2 separate regions of the Homo sapiens genome follow, and region 1 is linked to region 2. Evidence: promoter capture Hi-C in 16 types of primary human blood cells and fetal thymus (Javierre and others, 2016). All regions are on one chromosome and are shown on one strand. Each heading gives the region's core, a stretch centred on a gene start or on the middle of the fragment in contact. The rest is flanking DNA. Distances are from core to core; before and after follow the strand shown. Region 1 has its middle 16 kb from the start of TCF23. Region 2 holds the start of MAPRE3 (microtubule associated protein RP/EB family member 3).

The links. The method cuts DNA at HindIII sites, captures the fragments that hold promoters and counts their contacts. A CHiCAGO score of 5 or more calls a contact.
Region 1: a contact is called between a fragment that was not itself captured here and the fragment with the promoter of MAPRE3 in region 2, in 2 of 17 cell types (naive B cells and total B cells). The highest score is 6.1, in naive B cells.

Annotation. Positions count from the first base shown.
Region 1 is chr2:27,162,562-27,167,905 of GRCh38, forward strand. No RefSeq gene overlaps it. Among named protein-coding and RNA genes, the nearest start is that of TCF23, 16 kb to the left of the region's middle. RefSeq lists an enhancer at 2,831-3,140. The HindIII fragment of the contact is 1,403 bases long and covers 3,202-4,604 here.
Region 2 is chr2:26,968,410-26,973,227 of GRCh38, forward strand. MAPRE3 (microtubule associated protein RP/EB family member 3) reads left to right here and starts at 2,228. Exons shown (of 7, transcript NM_012326.4): 1 at 2,228-2,393. RefSeq lists a silencer at 2,113-2,442. The HindIII fragment of the contact is 16,247 bases long and covers 1-3,416 here.

The DNA of each region.
Region 1 (5,344 bases), core at 2,653-5,152, 200 kb after region 2:
ACTTTCCTATTGAAGTCAGGGGATCAGGATTTTGTTTTCTGCCAACACAGAGAACGGCGGTTTGCTTTCGTTTTCAGCTGAGGTCTTGTTGCATTGTGACCTTTCATTCTGGAAATCAGACTTGTTTCACCTATGACCAACCTCTCTTGAAGTTATTTTTCCTAATTAATGAGAGTGAATGGATTCTTCACTCTAAAGATGAAAGGCTCTTGCTCCCTCTGACCTGTTAGAGTGCTCTAAATAATTAGAGACGTGGTGGAGGTGTTGGACCCTTGTCCATGATATCCAGTGGCCTTACAGGGTTTCCTCTCTCAGAGGAACATCTGCAATCTCTTGCTCTGCCAGCAAATGCACGCGAAGCCTGGTCACCTAGCACTAGTGAACCCTCTGTGACCCTCCAGGGACTCCGAGTTTCTGAGACACATAAAAGAGTGGACCCAACTCATTGGTGACATATTGAGGAGCTACACTCACAAGCAGCACATTTGGAACCGCAACATTCCCCAGAGCTTAGTCCTGAGTGATTCAGGTGTCTAAATTATGGGCGTTAAAGCAAACTAAATATGGCCTGAGAAGGACTCCATACTTCTATATTTGAGTCCTTGTGGACGAACTGTAACCTAGTAATAGGAAGACAGGGTGGTTCACGGTGGCTCATACCTGTAATCCCAGCACTTTGGGAGGCCAAGGCGGGTGGATCATTTGAGGTCAGGAATTTGAGACCAGCGTGGCCAACACGGTGAGACCCCATATCTACTAAAAGTACAAAAATTAGCCAGGTGTGGTGGTGCACACCTGTAATCCCAGCTACTTGGGAGGCTGAGGCAGGAGAATCGCTTGAGCCTGGGAGGCGGAAGTTGTGGTGAGCCAAGATCATGTCACTGCACTCCAGTCTGGGTGACAGAGTAAGACCCTGTCTCAAAAAAAAAAAAAAAAATGCAGACAAGATTGAAAATCTAATTTAGGAGTATGCACCTGTAACAATAGCTGAGTCTTGGCCAATCCCAGCAGCCATACTTCAACCACTCATAGATTGCTAAGTGTTCAAACTGTGTTCAAATAAGGTAAACACCAACCTGCAACCAATGCAGCTGTTTCTGTACCTCACTGCCGATTTCTGTATGCCACTTCCCTTTTTTTGTCTATAAATTTGTTCTGGCCATGAGGCATCCCTGGAGTCTCTCTGAATCTGCTGTGATTCTGGGGTCTGCCTGATTCACAAATCGTTCCTTGCTCAATTAATCTCCTTTAAATTTAATTCGGCTGAAGTTTTTTTTTTAACACGGGTAAAAAATCATCCAACTCCAAAGACTCTCTAAGGAGGCAGCCTTTCTTGGAGACACCAACTGGGTTTATGTACAACACATAATGGAGTGTCCTTTTGTAAATATCTAGGAAAACGGACCCGCATAACCCAGAATAGTCATAAGCAACAGTGGTCAAAATGGGGGTCCTTTGAAATGCCTAAAATAATTCATTTGCATGCACTATTGGAAAAAACTGGTTTTAAAACCATGCAAATTGAATGAGAGACCTACTTTCTCTTTATCCTGGATGAAATCTAATAATAATAGATTTGAAAAAAAAGTTTCAAGAGCTCTGTGGTCAGAAGTCAGCCTAACTAGAAGTTTGTGAACGAAAAATAAAATCCTAAGTCCCCCAACTGACTGAACAGACCCCCTATTGGCCAAGGGGACCCCAGAGAAACCTGAAAAACTGAATTCCCAGCCACAAAGGTGTTGAGGAATAGAGTCAAACCCTGTGAAATATTTGAAGAGATTTATTCTGAGCCAAATATGAGTGACCAATGGCCTGTGACACAGCCCTCAGAAGATCCTCAGAATATGGTGGTTGGGCCACAGCTTGGCTTTATACATTTTAGGGAGACATAAGACATCACTTGGCTGGGCACGGTGGCTCACACCTGTAATCCCAGCACTTTGGGAGGCCGACATGGGTGGATCATGAGGTCAGGAGATCGAGACCATCCTGGCTGACATGGTGAAACCCCGTCTCTACTAAAAAATACAAAAATTAACCAGGCATGATGGCGGGCACCTGTAGTCCCAGCTACTCGGGAGGCTGAGGCAGGAGAATGGCGTGAACCCAGGAGGTGGAGGTTGCAGTGAGCCGAGATAGCACCACTGCACTCCAGCCTGGGCGACAGAGCGAGACTCTGCCTCAAAAAAAAAAAAAAAAAAAAAAGACATCACTCAATACATGTAAGATGTACATTGGTTCAGTCCAGAAAGGCAGGGCAACTAGAAGCTGGTGGAGGGCTTCTAGGTCTTAGGTAGATTTAAAGATTTTTTGATTGGCAATTGGTTGAAAGAGTTAAGTTACTGTCTAAAGACTTAGAAATGTCCAGGTTAAGATAAGGGGTTGTAGAGACCAAGGTTTTATGATACAGGTGAAGCCTCCAGGTCTCAGGCTTCAGAGAGAATAGATTGTAAATGTTCTTATCAGACTTAAAGAGTCTGTTCTATCAGTAAATCCAAAAGGGAGGAGGGTATCATGAGGCATGTCTGAACCCCCTTCCCATCATGGCCTGAACTAGTGTTTCAGGTTAACTTTGGAATGCCCTTTAGGGACAGGAGGAGTCCATTCAGATGACTGGGGGTTTAGACTTTTATTTTTGGTTTACAGTGGGAAGTGAGGTCCGACATGTCTTGTTATACCCCTCCTCCCTTTTGGTGTTTAGGCACAACTGACAAGCATTGTGGTTAAAACAGGGATTATAAGACTGGCAAAAGAGAGTATCTGTGGCAATAAGATACCAAATTTTGAACAACAATCTGTTAGGCACAAACAGTTTCTCTTCAAAAGTTTCAGTTCCTGGTTCTTTGTTCTATTCTGAAAGTAATGTTACCTGTCCATCTATCAGCCCTCCCTATCTCTGTTGCACCCAAACACGTCCAAGCATGTCCCATCACCTATGTGCCCGTCCTTCCCATCAAGTGCCCACCCTTGCCTCCTTCGATGATGTCAATACTAGCCAATCGGGATTAGCTTAGATCGTGCGGTCTGACTCCAGCCAACCGGGGGAGGACCCAGGAACAGGGTCTGCATTAGGGATAAAAATGCCTGCTCTCCTTTGTTCAGTGTGCTCCCTTGCCTCTGCCTTGCATGCAGGTAGCACCCTTCTATAGAAGTAAAATTTTGCCTTGCAGAGAAGTTATCTGAGTGCTCATTTCCTTTGCAAGCTTTATTTCCTGAGCTTTATTTCCAACAAATCTAATAACCAGGCAGAATTGGGGGAAAAATAGAATTTTCAGAAATTAAAAATATGATATTTTAATTAAAGACTCAATGAATGATTAGAAACTGCTAGAGGCCATGAAAGGCAAGGGTTAAATCATACCCAACAAACCATAAAATCTCATTAACTGGGTTTTTAAAATTAACGCAGTATACTGTGGCTTACTTTCCAACCTGACTGTGGCTTAGCACCACATGGCAGATTACAGGCCCTGAAGGAAATAAAAATATTTTACTCCAAAATGTATTTGTTTGGCATACTTTGAAATGGTCCTGCAAAGCTGTCTTTCGTGGGGGAAGTTTGTATCTGTAGAGAATCTCCACCACTGCAACCAGGTCTTCCTTTCTAGGCCTTTCCAAGATCTAGGAGAGATTAACTGAGAGGCTGACACTTTAAAAAATCTGAAAAGAGACATTTACCATCTATTCTTTCTGAGGGCTGGTCCCTGTGAGGCTTCATCTCCATAATAAGGGCCTTGGCACCCGTGACTCCCTTTTTTATTTGTCATTTTTGTTGTTGTTGTTTTTAGACAGAGTCTCACTGTGTTGCCCAAGCTAGAGTGCAGCGGCATGATCTTGGCTCACTGCAAACTCCACCTTTCAGGTTCAAGGGATTGTTGTGCCTCAGCCTCCCAAGTAGCTGGGATTACAGGCGTGCACCACCAGGCCCGGCTAATTTTTGTATTTTTAGTAGAGAGGGGGTTTCACCGTGTTGGCGAAGCTGGTCTTGAACTCCTGACCTCAAATGATCCACCCATGTCAACCTCCAAAAGTGCTGGGATTACAGGTGTGAGCCACCATGCTGCCCTGACCCTCTTACCTTAACACAAGCATTCTTTTCTACTGAATTCAAGTCTTTAAGCAATAGCTTAACTCTCTCAACCATCAACTAAAGAATTTCTAAAACCCACCCATGACTTGCAAGCTCCCACTTCAAGATGTCCCAACTTTTCAGGCCAAACCAATGTATACCTTTTATGTATTGATTTATATCTTTGCCTGTAACTCCTGTCCCTCTAAAATGTGTAAAACCAAAGTGTAACCTGACTCCTCAGGCACACTTTCTCAGGACCTCTTGAGACTATTCCCCTGGCCATGGTCACTCATATGGGCTCAGAATAAACTTCTTTAATATATTTCACAGAGTTTGGTTTTTCTGTTTACAAGCCAATACCCAGGCTATATGTGAGGCTGGGGGCTCTTTGCTTTTTCTCTTTTGGATTCTGTTTCTGGGAATTTTTTTTAGTTGATTGACACCTCTTACAAAAAAAAAAGTTTGATCCCTCTGCTTTCTGGTTGGCATGATTTTGCTGATGAAAATGTAAAACTTAATTGGCTTTTTAGAAAGCTTAAAACCTCCCCAAATTGGCTCCTCTAAGATTTGTTCTTCCATTTCCTGCCACTTCTGGTCCTCTATAACCCACACTCTATAGCTCAACACTGTACAGCCAATCATTAATCAATGTTATTTCTGTAAACCAATGAGAATTCCTGACAAACAACTTTGTATCAGCCCACTCCTTGTCCTCTTTTTTGCCTTTAAAAACCTGCTTGTAACAAAGGCCCAAGCCTCCACCCATTTCTGACACTATGGTAGACTAGATGTTCAGAGAAACTCTCCTGGTACAGAAACTCAAAATGATGGCTAAAATCGTAAAAACATATTCTTAAAAGTATTGCTTGCCTGGCAGAAAAGTAAGGGAAAAGAATAAGAGAAAGAATAAGGAAGCATGTAGCAAAAAATGGTAAGCCAGCACTCAAGTCAGTGCTGCCTTTGCAATATCTGCAAATTCCTGGTGCCCAAGGCCTGGGTCTTACGGGCCACACCTGGGGACAGGAGACAACACCTAGGGCCCATTCGAAATGGGAAGTTGGATCAGAGACTCTGTCACAAAGTTGGGATCCTCAAAAGGCAACACCCTCAGTAAGGATGTTTTGTTGTGGGGGAGGCCAAAATTTTAAAGTGGTCACGATTTAGTAGTGTTTCCTGGCACAAGCAGGTGCAAACCTTCTCTGGAGGAACACGTTTTAAATTCATGCAGTGGCCAGGCACGGCCACTCACACCTGTAATTCCAGCACTTTGGG
Region 2 (4,818 bases), core at 978-3,477:
CTTCCCTATTGCCTTGGTGACACCCAGATACCCTGCAGATGCAGTTAGAAACAGCTCCAGTTGTCCAACTCTGTGGCTAGAAAAAAGTGTAGCCTGGGTTTTTACTCTCCTAACCCCTTGATTTGTTTTGGGAATTATTGTCTACAAAGAGCTCTCTCCTTTCTGATAATTGCTTTAGGTGGAAGAAGAGAGGATATGCTGTGTCCCCTCTCTTTTCTTACTTACTCTATTTGTAACTTTCTTCTTTTTTCCCCAAGAAAATGGGCTTAGTTGGGGTGCTTTGGCACCAATAGTCCTGCGGCGGAATCTGTGGGAGCTAGACAGGGAGATTTGGAAGAGAATGCTAGGTTGTGAGCTCTTGCTTTTGAGTTGTTTGAAGAGAATGCTGCATCTCTGGCATGTCAACAAGCCCAGCAGAATCCAGTAACGTTCACCAAGAAGGCTTGATTAGAGCTGGTTAGGGGATGATCAGGATGGTTAGGTGTGAAGAGCTTACGCTGATTATGGAGGGTATGGGAGTCACGGGGTTGGTACCCAGTGAGGAAATTTACCTTAGTAGAAACATTTGGGATAGTGTAGAAGAGAGAAGAGCTAGAGGCGAGGATTCAGGAAATAGAGAATGCCAGAGTCTCAATTAACAGGATGGAAAGCTAAGGAGATGAAAGACTTATAATAGTAGCATAGTACTAAAAGACAAACTATGTGTAAAGGTATTAGAAATGGGGACTGGGACTCTGAGGCAGTTAGGCCAGAGAAAAGAAGAAGGAAAAGATTTGTCTTCATTTGATTCAATTACATAAGCATTTCTCAGAATCTGCTATGTGTCACATGCTGTGGTGGATGCTGAGGGAGCTGATGAAAAAGACAGAATTCCTGCCCACCAGGGTCACATAGTCTGGAGACACAGACACGTAAACAAATGACGATAGTGTAAGGTGTGTGTAAGAAAGGAGGAATGTACAGGGTTGGTACAAAGGTGACCTCAAGGCATCCATGGGAATCAGGGCTGAGGGAGGAAGAGCCAGAAGACATCAGCACAAAGAGAACCAAGATGCTGAAGTCACAGGGGGAAAGAACATACTGGAGCCCCGGGCAGAGCAGTGCTGGACAAGGACAGCAAGTGTGGAGAGGAAAGGGAGATCCAGAAGAACCGAGGAGATCCATAACAGCATGCTTGGAGGAGGAAATTCGGGAAAACGAATGGACATGTCAGAGGGAGCTAGTTATGAGGAAGTGGACTGCAAACCAGATAGTGAGCAAGATGAAGAAATGAGGTGTTTATCCTTGCAATGGGAGAGAGACAATAAGGCTGACAAAAACTCAAGTGGTCTGTGGATAGACGATTTCGTTAGCTCGATTTAAGGGTAAAGGGCACACTCTCTGGTAGGAGATGAAAGGGGATGTTTAAAACAGGTAGAAAAAAATTGGGCCGGGCGCGGTGTCTCACGCCTGTAATCCCACCACTTTGGGAAGCCGAGGCAGGTGGATCACCTGAGGTTAGGAGTTCGAGACCAGCCTGGCCGACATGATGAAACCCCTGTCTCTACTAATAATACAAAAACTTTGCCAGGCATTGTGGCGCACGCCTGTAATCCCAGCTACTCGGGAGGCTGAGGCAGGAGAATTGCTTGAACCCAGGAGGCAGAGGTTGCAGTGAGCCAAGATCGCGCCAGTGCACTCTAGCCTGGGCGACAAGAGTGAAACTCCGTCCCAAAAAAAAAGAAAAAAAAATGAATTTGGGAATTAGAGAAAAAGACTGTGATTGGAACCCACACACCAAGAGAGGAGATAAAACCCAGCCTTAGCTCTTCCATGTCGCTGAAAGAGAAGAAAACGTCTCTTTTTCCTTTTCCGTAGCCATAAAAGATGAAAATCCGTCATCCAGCTACTGAAATCAGGTGCACACGGTTGTTCCTCCTGTGATGAGACAGGGCGGAGGGATTGTTACCCTGTTGCCAGGGAAAAAGGAAGGGGCTGTTCCCAGTTGCTATGGTGACGAGGTAGGCGCGTTCCCTCGGTACCGCCGCACACGTCTGAAGCGGTCTCTTCTCCTCGTTGCTACGGCAACGCAGTGGGCCTGTTCCTGTCGCCCCCCGCCTCCCGCCGCAATCGCTAAGGCAAGGTGGAGGTAGGGGCTGTCCTCCCGCGGCTCAGTTGCCTTGGAGACGGCGGGTGCCCTGGCCCCGCCCCGCTCGGACTGACAGCGGCGGCCGCATCGCGCCTGCGCAGTGCCCTCGTCCCCCGCAGTCTCTGTGCGTTGAAGCCGGAGACCGCGGCGGCCTCAGCGAGGACCCTCCGCCCCGGAGCCGCCGGCCGGAGCCGCAGCCTCTGCCGCAGCGCCCCCGCCACCTGTCCCCTCCCCCTCCGCCTCCGCCGGAGCCGCCTCGTGCACTGTGAGTCCGGGCCGAGGCGACGGACGCCGTGGGGCTGAGTCAGCGGGAGGCCAGGGCCCGGGCTGGGGGAGGGGAACCGGGCTCCCCCCGCCCCTGCCTCCCCACCCGCACTCCCGCATCCCGACCGCGCCTTCCCCGCGCCGGTCAACCCCCTCCATCCCTGTCGCCGGGTTCCCTCCGGCCTTGGCGGCCCGGCCTCCCCAGCCACTCCCCCTCCCCTTCCCTCCCCTCCCCTTCCCTCCGTCTCTCCGGGTCCACCTTGAGGCTCCTTCCCCACTAGACGTGGCCACCGCACCTCTGCCCTGGGCTGATATTTTCTCCAAACTACCTCCCGTCCGCCCTTATCCCTTCTCCCTCCTCCTCACTCCTCCTAGGCCTGACATCTCCCGGCCTCTCTGGATCTCCCCAGTGATGTGCCAGAAAAAGAGTGACAGGAGAGCGAGGGGAGACTTGGGGGAGGGGGAACATCGGGCCAGGCCCAGCCTGGGGGCCTCGGGTTTCTTCCCCACACGCTCCTGCCTGGCTGGTTTGGGGAAGCAGGTCTGGACAGTTCTCACTGGCTGCTCAGAGCTTGCAGGGCTTTCCGAATAGATTTGGCTGGGAAGGGTTCAGCCCCATCGTGATCATCTAGCGTTTAATGAACGCGGCTAGTGCCTGGTGGCCTTCTAGTGGGCTGAGCTACTGCCCGGCCGGTGTTGCGGAGCGGGGAGTAGAAGTAGTGGAGGGAAGGGAGAAGAGGTTGCGTTTGGGAGCTCCAAGTTCCTGCGCTTCCGGTGTGGTGTTGTGAATAAGCATCTTGCGGAACTCTTTAAAATGCTTTTTTTTTTTTTTAAATCGCACTACAACCCTGGTATAATGTGAGGTTTGGAAAAAGGCCTGATACCATCCATAGGAAGTGCTTACTGTTTATATATGAAGGGGCTGTGGCAGGACTTGATCTTGGATTCCTGTAAATTAACTAATTGGATAGTAGTGAGTTTTTAACATAACGTGTGCAGAGTTGAGAGGAAGGAGAAAAATCGAAGCTTCTCCATGGTGTAGGTGTGAGGCCTGTACACTGTGCCTCCTCCAGCTGTGTGTCTTTGTGGGGCTGTCACCAGATAGGGGTTCTAGCATATTTGGACAATTCCCTGGGTTATGTTTGCTACCCCTCCACCTGCCCATCTTGCAGTCCCTGTTCTTGGAATAGAAGAGGGTCCCAAACAGTTTTCTTTTTCCAGAAGAACTGAGTTGAAGTCAGAGTTAGTGCCCAGAGCCAGAAACTCTTAATAAACATGTCTCAACTTGAGGGCCCCTAACTACTATATGACCTCATTGTCAGCTTCTTTTTTATTTGGCTTCCAAATTTCAGTGTGCTTTTAGAAAGCACGTGTAAATATAAGCCAGATCTACCGCACAAGAGGCTTTGGGATTTTTACTCCAGATGGTAAAAGGAACGCATGGTCCATTTCTAAAAATCATGGTGAAGGAGCCACTCATTTGGAGTTTCCGGGGTTGCAAACAATGAGAAATAACTATTTCACTCTTTACTTTGCTCAATCATGGCCTATTGGCAGCCTCCTCATAGCCACTCCCTGCCCCCATGCCCATCAGATTAGTTTACAGTAGCCAAGACGGCTGTCGCCCTAGTTTTAAACATAGAGATGAAGTTCAGGAAAACTATAGCCCCCATCCAGCAGGGCAGTTTCTTCTGTTTCGAATGCCAGACTGGGGTTTGGTGGGATGCACCTGCCTGTGGTGCAGTGGGAACTGTGGGGCCTGAGAGTGGCATTCCTTCTGTGTGGTCCTGTGTCACATAGCTCACCAAAATACCCGAGCAGGGCAGGAGCAGACAGCTGTACTGGAGAGCTGCTCCTCCTGGGCTGAGTGTATTTTGGGAATCAGCGATATTACTGGGGTGGAGGGTTGTGAATTAAGGAGGAAGAAAATGTGTCAAGGCTAGATAGATCAGGAGGGTGTAAGTAAAATGTTCCTTTCCAGTTTGCTATGGGATAGTACATTTTCAGAGGATCAGAGTAGTTTTTATATGGATTAATTTGCCTTTGAAATCCATACCAGTGTTTTATGAGATAATGATGGAATGCCTTTTAAACTGCTACTATGAGGAAACAGGACTAATACTTGTCTTATACATTGCCTATCCAGCTGTTGCTGAATGTAATTGTTAAGATCAAGGAGAGGGACATGATTTGAACCAAGTTAGACCTAAATCTATGTAATGGTATTGAGGTTTTGTAGGACTGTATTCTTGATTCTAAGACACACCAGCAATTTACCAATAGCTTTTAGGTAAAATAATCTAATGCTACCAGATCAAAATATATATGCTGATTCCAAGGTGCATCCTCATTTTAGAAACATTAAAACCCTCGGGAAATGGCAAGACTTGAGGGAGGGATTTGTGAATCTTGGAACTGAGAAAGAA